Regions from separate parts of the Homo sapiens genome. Here region 1 is linked to region 2. Evidence: promoter capture Hi-C in human tissues and cell types (Jung and others, 2019). All regions are on one chromosome and are shown on one strand. Each heading gives the region's core, a stretch centred on a gene start or on the middle of the fragment in contact. The rest is flanking DNA. Distances are from core to core; before and after follow the strand shown. Region 1 overlaps THRAP3 (thyroid hormone receptor associated protein 3). Region 2 holds the start of MRPS15 (mitochondrial ribosomal protein S15).

The links. The method cuts DNA at HindIII sites, captures the fragments that hold promoters and counts their contacts. A contact is called where the count stands out against the background at its distance.
Region 1: a fragment that was not itself captured here is called in contact with the fragment with the promoter of MRPS15 in region 2 in 1 of the 25 tissues and cell types used here (spleen).

What each region holds. Positions count from the first base shown.
Region 1 is chr1:36,280,167-36,284,436 of GRCh38, forward strand. THRAP3 (thyroid hormone receptor associated protein 3) reads left to right here. Exons shown (of 12, transcript NM_005119.4): 3 at 2,367-2,534. The coding sequence starts at 2,398. Among named protein-coding and RNA genes, the nearest start is that of SH3D21, 24 kb to the right of the region's middle. The HindIII fragment of the contact is 3,063 bases long and covers 58-3,120 here.
Region 2 is chr1:36,461,120-36,465,751 of GRCh38, forward strand. It overlaps MRPS15 (mitochondrial ribosomal protein S15), which reads right to left and starts at 3,265. Exons shown (of 8, transcript NM_031280.4): 1 at 3,027-3,265; 2 at 2,687-2,731; 3 at 969-1,044; 4 at 145-193. The coding sequence starts at 3,156. RefSeq lists enhancers at 2,273-3,176, 2,572-3,771, 3,171-3,420, 3,177-4,078. The HindIII fragment of the contact is 17,048 bases long and covers 379-4,632 here.

The DNA of each region.
Region 1 (4,270 bases), core at 339-2,838, 180 kb before region 2:
ATGACCTTGGGCAAGTTAATTACTTTCTCTATGCCTCAAAATTCTTATCTGTAAAACGGGATTAAAAATGCCCTCCTCAAGGATAAAATGAATTAATAAAAACACTGGTTAAGCATTTGCTATTCTGGGCGTTGGGTATACAGCACTAAATAAAGAAAGATGAGGTTTCTGTTGTTATAGAGCTTACATTCTAATTAAAGACAGAATAACAAGTAAACAAGATAGTTTCACATACTGAGTTTTGCTCTGAAGAAACAAATAAGATACATACTGGACCTAGAGAATGACTGGTGGCTATTTTTGACTGGGTGGTCAGGGTGAACCTCTGAGGAGATAGCTTTTGAGCTGAGATCTTCAAATTCTGAGGGGTAGGAGGGGAGAAATATTTGATTATTATTTTCCCTTCACAGACAAGAGGCAGCATTACTTGGCAGAATCTCGCTAGGCAGCAAAGTGTGATAGAATAGGCCCTGGAGTTTGGGCCTGGTTTGGCTATTAATTAGCTTTGTGATCTTTGATAGATTCCTTACTCTTACTGTCTTTGATAGACATGTACTTTAGCACTTAAAGTTTTTACTGCTGGGAAGATGTCCAAGGCGCTAATAGAGTATAAAGGAGAGAAGTATACCTTGTAGACCAGGCGTTAACCTCTCAGGGCAACTTAGAGGCGCTCTTCTTTCCTGGAGGGGGAAAAAAGGAAAAAGACTATTTGTTTCTTGGTGGGAAAATGACCCTGAAAGAAAGTTGACTCTTTATTTTTATTTATTTTTTTTTTTGAGACGGAGTTTTGCTCTTGTCGTCCAGGCTGGAGTGCAATGGCGCGATCTTGGCTCGCTGTAACCTCTGCCTCCTGGGTTCGAGAGATTCTCCTGTCTCAGCTTCCTGAGTAGCTGGGATTACAGGCACCCGCCACTACTTTTAGTAGAGATGGGGTTTCACCATGTTGGCCACGCTGGTCTTGAACTCCTGATCTCAGGTGATCAGCCCACCTCAGCCTCCCAAAGTGCTGGGATTACAGGCGTGAGCCACCGCCCCCAGCTGACTCTTTTGTAATAAAGAGCTGGAACAAATTGATGGTTCTTTATGACTAGATGTGCCACATACTCTGTAACTAAGTTAAATTGCATGCGGTTTCTTCTCTTGGAACTAGGAAACCTGTCTCACATCTCCTCATTACTTTTATTAACAGCTGACTTTAGTCTCAAAGCTTCTTTGCTTACTGAGAAAAGACTGCATGCACCAAAATTAATAAGCACCCTCATTCTTGGTCATCTCTTACAGTATTACCCAGTTAGGGTTACATGTCAGGTTTTCCATTTGCTGCTGTGGCTTGGTCTGTTTGGGATTTGTACTACTAAGAAATTCCTTTTGATGAAAGAGCAGAGTGGTTTTTAAAAATCAGTCATTTCATCTTTTTTTTTTTTTTAATGTTACTTTCTGTTTTTAAAGTTTATTTTATTTAAACAGTTGTTTTTTTTGTAGAGGTGGGGGAATCTTCCTATGTTGCTTAGGCTGGTCTCAAAATCCTGGCCTCAGGCCATTCCCACCTTAGCCTCTGGAGTAGCTAGGACTACAGGCCCTTACCACTACATCCAGCTAATTTTAAAAGTTTTTACTTTGTAGGCCAGGCACGGTGGCTCACGCCTGTAATCCCAGCACTTTGGGAGGCCGAGCCGGGCAGATTACCTGAGGTCGGGAGTTCGAGACCAGCCTTACCAACAAGGAGAAACCCTGTCTCTACTAAAAATACAAAAAAATTAGCCGGGCATGGTGGCCCATGCTTGTAATCCCAGCTACTTGGGAGGCTGAGGCAGGAGAATTGCTTGAACCCGGGAGGCGGAGGTTGTGGTGAGCTGAGATTAAGCCATTGCACTCTAGCCTGGGCAACAAAAGCAAAACTCCTATCTCAAGAAAAAAAAAATTTTTTTTTTAACTTTGTAGACACGGGATATTGCTATGTTGCCCAGGCTAGTCTTGAACACCTGGACTTAAGCAGTCCTCCTCCTACCTTGGCCTCCCAGTGCACTGGGATTACAGGCGTGAGCCACCGTGCTCAGCCACTTTCTCTCTTTTTTTTTTTTTTGGAGATAGGGTATTGCTCTTTCCTCCAGAGCTGCAGTGCAGAGGTGTGATCACAGCTCACTGTAACTTTGCACTCCCTCCTGTCTTAGCCTCTCAAATAGCTAGGACTACAGGAACGCACCACTGTGACTGGCTAATTAAAAAAAAATTTTTTTTTTTTTTTTGTAGATATGGGGTCTTCTCAAGTTGCCCAGATTAAAAGAAATGTGTTTCTAAAATGTCCAAAGAGGTTCACATTTGCAAAGGAACTCACTCATTTGTTCTAATGCATTTTCTTACATTAGGTGTAATTGAAAAGTGATCCTCTCTTCAGAGATGTCAAAAACAAACAAATCCAAGTCTGGATCTCGCTCTTCTCGCTCAAGATCTGCATCAAGATCTCGTTCTCGTTCATTTTCGAAGTCTCGGTCCCGAAGCCGATCTCTCTCTCGTTCAAGGAAGCGCAGGCTGAGGTAAGGGGGTGTGACTTTGTATATTGAGATAATCATTGCATCAGTCGATGTGGATGTTTGAAGATCTTTTGTTAGACTTTTCCTGTGAGTGTCAAATGGACTGGGGGGTTGGCTTGAGGTGCAGGGTTGGGCTATAAGATATTCCAGGTCTCTTTAAACTACAAATCCAGATCAGCTTTGACTGCCATGCTGATTGCCTGATTCCTTTCCTCTGCCAGCACATAGTATTTCCCACCCACTTTGGAAGAAAGAACATTTTATTTTTATTTGAGCTGCTTGCTTCAAATCTCTATAGCTGATTATTTTTCACCAAATTATTTTTGAAGGCTTGAACCAAAGTTTATGTGCATCACTGCAAAGAAAGGATAGCTAAGAGGATTAATAATATGAACAACATGGCAAGGAAAAGAAGCTTCAACTCACTAAAATAAACTTACAGAAACTTATCAGGAGTAATTTGTATACAATGTGCCAATTACTAACAAGCTGCATCTGTTTAGTAAATGTATCTTAAAACTTTTTAAAAATCGCTATTGAAAACATCACTTTATCTTACTGAATATGAGCACAGTTCTTTTGAATTTATTGCCAGTATTTCCTAATTCAGTCAGTTTTCACACCTTCAGGTGGATTTCCCTATTTTAATTATGTCTTGGAATAGGATGCCAAACCTCCAGCGTCTTTCCTCTCTTGGTGTGTTGTGAGTTGGATTTTTCATTCTTTAAAAGTGTTTAAACTTTCTTTTGTGGATAGATAAGAAGCTTTCAGTAAATAACAAGTTTCTATATGTGAGTTTGGGAAATATTGGTGTATTTAAATTGGTGTGCTGAAGAGGAATCTTTGTACATTTTCATTCTTTTTCCCACAAGTACATTAGCAAGGAGATGATTTGTCATGTTTGACACTTGGAACCCCTGCTGTTTATTTCAGATGAGTATCTAGAATCCTTGTCTTAGATGAATTGATTAGCTGTTTATTTCAGATGAGTATCTAGAATCCTTGTCTTAGATGAATTGATTACGACATTTAAAATAAACCTCAGAAGTCAGTGATTAAACTTTTACTCTTGATGATTTCCAGAGCCCTATAGTACTTCTAAGGGGTCTATTAAACAAAGGATTAGTAGTTTTGTTTTTTTACCATTTAACAAAAACAAGGTAGATATTAAATGGAGTCTATGAGAAGCCAGCCTGAAAAAGCAGGTATGCATAAATATTGAAAAGGGAAACCCTAAATTTATTTACCTCAGGAAATTGCTTTTAAAGCCATGGGACCAGCAAGACTCTTAGTAACTCCTACCCTGTACCCAGAATCTTGATTTAGGGAGTTTAAACCTCAGTTTTAGCTCATTTGGTTATGAAAGATACCTTTTTAAAATTTAATCTAGTAACTAGAAGAAACTAAATAATTGGTTCAACACCAAGAGGCTATGCAACCAAAACTGAGAGACAAAATTGAATTGAAAAATGTTAACCAACTCTGAAGTATTTATGACAGCTGGAATTCCGGGCAGTTCTTTTCTCCTTGTTCTGCAAATCATTTGGCACTTGCTCACTGACTTGGCAAATGAGGAAAAAATATTTTAGGAAGGCAGTATGTGCTGGGGTAGGTCTAGAGACACTTTACATGCTATCATATACCTAGAAGAGACTTTTCTGGAGGAATTTCTCCACTAGAAAGTATGCTTTTATAATTGATTGTAATCTGACTTCTCTGTTTTTAGAAACAGATAAATT
Region 2 (4,632 bases), core at 2,015-4,514:
AGGGATATTGACAAATGGAGGCAGAATGACAGTGGGCTAAGTGCTGTGACTGGAGAAGCATGAGATGCGGGGTGCTAATCAGGGTAGAAGGGAGTCCCAGAGGAGAAGACTGCGGGAGGCTGAGGCTTGGCAGAGGCTGCTCACCTTGTTGGCCATTTCCAAAGACAAGAGTCTTTTCACGACATCATCAACCCTGTGGATAAACCACAGCAATGAGACAGACATTGGGGGAGAAGAGAGGAAAGCAATGCTGGTTTCATTTTAGTTTGAAAAGCAAAGATGATTGAAAAATTCCTTCTGTAGCAAATGAATCTCCCTGGAGGTGGGGAGCCATTTCCCAGGGATTAAAAGTCAGTGTGGATCTGGCTTGCTGGGCTGAAACTACAGAAACTGGGGCTGTCAGCTCGACTGTTCCGGTCTCATCACAGGGAGGGCAAGGAGAGGATTTCCATTTTAGCTACAACATGGTTCAATCTGTTTTGAGACATTTCAAGTTAAATTGCACAGTGGGAGGGACTGACCAGCTCCCACCACACTGCATAGGAGCTGAGCAGAGGGCCTCTGGCTTTGGTGTCAGTCAGCCCTGGATTCAAACTCTAGCTCTGCCCTTTAGAACTGTATGACACTGGACAGCTTGAAAATCTATAAAATGGGGACATACAGCTTTTGTGAGGAACAAGAGATGAGAGATTTCTACAAAGACCTGTGAAGTATGTTAGCTCCTTGGAATCTAGTGGTACAGGGTGTTCATCTAGAGTACAAAAAAACCCCCAAGTAGCCGAGCTCCATGAGTGCCATCTGCCTTGCTGACCACCCACCCTCACCACACCTGGACACCTGGGCCCCTGCCTCCTTCTAGATCAAGCTTCAGCTACAGCAAGCCAAGTCTCAAAGCCACTGTCTTTCCCCACTCCCCGACAATCCTCCCAGGGCCCCCTGCCTCCTCTACTAGGTTTCTTCCTGCTTACTTCTCAATTCCAGGGACATTCTGGTAGTCTTTGAGCAGCGTAGAGGGAGGTGGGTCATCATCCAGCCTAGACTGGGCTGTCAAGTAAATATGGGGATAGAAAACACCCAGAGTCAACTCTCGCTGCCCACCCTCCCAGACCTGGCTCTTTTCACCCACTCTCCAACTCCAGAAGGGACATTCAGGGTCTCAAGCAAAGCACTGGATATCTCTCGGCTCAGTTTCTCCTTTGCAAACTCCGTGGGCACCTGCTTTGATATTTCATGTTGCGAGTAGGTGGCTTTTCCCAAGACCCTACACTGTGCCTGCACCTTTCACACACCTATCTGGCTCTACAGTTCTCAGATCCCCCACTAGGATGGGTCCTCCTGTGGATAGGACAGAGTTTGACTCCCTTGGAATCCACCATAGTCTGGCCCATGGCTCAGCCTAGACTAGGCACTCAACAAACACTTGCTGGCTGACTGCATGTATGAATTAAGGGGGTTGAGGAAAGGCAGCTAGCTGTACGATGCCTGAAATGTAAGCACCAAGTAGAGATCACAGGAAAACCTCAGTCTTGGTGTGTGCACCCCTGCTATCCCTTGGAGATGAGGAAGAGGCATAGAGTAGATGGACTTATCCTCTCCAGTCAGACCCTGCTATGCAAATAACATTAATGGGCCTCTTCTGTCTGTAACAGCTCAAGTTGATTCTGATAGGGAGGCAGAAAAGAATTATATTAAAAATATATTAATAGCAATAAATTCTACTTATTTTATTTTTTGTAGAGACTGGGTCTTGCTATGTTGCCCAGGCTGGTCTTGAACTCCTGGCCTCAAGTGATCCTCCAGCCTTGGCCTCCCAAAATGTTGGGGCCATGTCCAGCCAATAATTTCTTTCTTTTTTGTTTTTTTGAGATGGAGTCTCGCTCTGTCACCCAGGCTGGAGTGCAGTGGCACGATCGGCTCACTGCAACCTCCACCTCCCAGGTTCAAGCGATTCTCCTGCCTCAGCCTCCTGAGTAGCTGGGATTACAGGCGCGCGCTACCACACCTGGCTAATTTTTTTCTGTATTTTTAGTAGAGACGAGGTTTCACCATGTTGGCCAGGCTGGTCTCGAACTCCTGAACTCAAGTGATCTGCCCACCTTGGCCTCCCAAAGTGTTGGGATTACAGGCGTAAGCCACCGCGTCCGGCCCCAGATAATAAATTCTAATATATACTATCAATATATTTAATTGAGCACAGCGTTAAGGGTGCTTTTCGTGTATTATCGCTGAATCCTAACAATCCTTGCAAATGGATACTTTCACACTCATTTTAGAAATAAGAATCAGAGAGAGGAAGTACCTTGCCCCATATCATTTACCTAATAAGAAGGATCTTAACTACTATGCATACTGAGTTGCAATGGGAAATTACATCCTGCATCTCAGAAGCGCAGACACAAAGTGCCATACTCTAGGTAGGCCTGGGTGGTGCCAGCCATGCACTCCCTCTGGGAAGCTCATTTTCACTCATTCACCTGGAAAGCTCCTGCTCCCGCCCTTCACACCCCTCTGTCCCCATACAGGCTGCAGGCCTAGGGCTTTGTGTAAGGTGGACGTGGGGTCTTTTGCTCAGGACCTCTGGCTCACCTCATCTAGTGGCTCTAATTCGCCACATCGGTCCCCTTACCCACCCCAGCCTTCCAGGAGGTCTCTCTTCCGCCCCAAGTCCCACCTTAGGAACTCCTACCTGGTTTCCGGACGACATATCCGCGCGCGGCCTGGAGGAGGAGACCTACGCAGAAAAGAGAGGGCTGAGGACCATCTCCTTAAATAGCCCACCCCTCAGTTCCTTTCTGTGCCCCTCGCATTGCCCGTCCGCCACGGTCTATGCGCTTCTGAACCTAACCGCTGCCCCATTTCTTCCCTACCCCTTGTCTCTCACATCTTGTTTCACCTCTTGCGCAACCACCGCCCTTTCCCCCTTATCCTGACCGCTGTATATCTCCCCTACTCCTGTGCTTCCTTATTCCCTATCTTCGCCGAACCCTGTTTCCCTACGCCCGCCGTCCCATTTCTCAGCTCCTCACTTCGAGGCTGCAGGCCCCACTGGTTGAAAGGAAACTTGGCGCTCCCACCGCCCGGCAGCCCGGGTACTAGGACCTGGGTAACTGCCCGGGTCCGAATCAAACTCAGCGTCCTCCACGCGACCCTCAGCATGGTGACCTCTAACCCCCGCGGGGCCCGCGCCGCGGCCGCCGTTCGCTTTGCGGCACGGACCGGGTTACATGGGCGCCGCCATGCTGGCCCAGGATCGACCAATCGAGGCAGTTGCAATACCGGAGCAGACGAAGACCGAGAGAATGGATTAGGTGGCGTGACTCTGATGACGCAACGCACGGGGCGGAGCTCAGAGACCGGGTTCCCGCTGCGCGTGATCGGGCCGTGGTGGTTGTGTGCCCACGTTTAGCAGCGTGCTGGGGTGCTGTATAAATTCTAAAATGCCACTTTTTGGAGGGCATGCGTTCCGTCCTTAATCTCATTCCTGGCCCTCGGGCCAGGGTTATTTTGGGAGGTCCATGGCGCCTGCGGTAGCCTTCTACCCCCAACCCAATCCCCTCTCCACCCCACCTCACCCCTCCCTTAGACAAGGATGGGACCGTGTAAGAACTACTACTGGGTTTCAGCCATGTCTCTGGCAGCCTCGTAGCCTGGAGACTAAAGTCGCTGAGTTTGGAATCGCACAGTCCTGGTCTGGAATCCTAACTCAGCCATTTACTCAACATGTGATCTTGTGGGCAAGTCACTTAACCTATGTGGGCCCTGTAGGGATAGTAATAACAATATCTCTCTTTTAGGTTGTTGAGAGGATTAACTGAGTTGTATGCAGACCACCTGGTATATAGTGAGCATTTAGTAAATCTTTACGGTGACGTTATTTGTGAAATGAGTGGTGTAAGGGTGGATACAAATTAGAAGAAAAAGAAAATTTAATTTTCCCTGGCGCAAAAAGGGAAAAGACTCCTTCCCCTCACTTTTCTGAGAGCATTTACTTTAGAAAACTTGTAATTGTGAATACTTTCTCTACTGCTTTGCGATGAATGTAAATCTTCTTAAAAGGTAAATAAACCTCTTGCCAGTTTTACAACCCCGGAATGTTTTTCTCAAGGACCTGGGGGCCAACCCTTTGAAATGTAATAATTAAGGAAGATAGTGCTCTCTCTCAGTTCCTGTGGGAGGGTAGGAGCCTAACTTCAGTTGGTGCCTAGCTCTTAGTTGCAACCTACCCTTTGTTATAAAGATAGGGGAAATCGATTTTTCCTTTGGATAAAGGCAATTAGCAGACACAGGTGGCTTCCCACTTACCAGGTAAATTTAGAGTGAGGTGCAGCCAAGTCCTCTTGCTTGAGGACCAGTTATTGTTTATCTTGAGAAAATGGATACAGTAAGTTGTATTCACTTTGCTACATAAAAGAGTAAGATTTTTGTCTCTTTGCAGTCTCTTTAGTGGATCACCAGTGTATCACATTCCGGTTTAATGCTTATTCAATAATAACACTGTTTTCTTTCTTTTCTACCCTTGTGAAGAGGTTTTCTGCGTTGGCAGGGGATTTTGTCTTTAATTTTATTTCCCCAACAGGGGTTAGTTTTTCCAAAGTCTCTTCACCGTGTCCCACCGCACTGTCACTCCCCCCG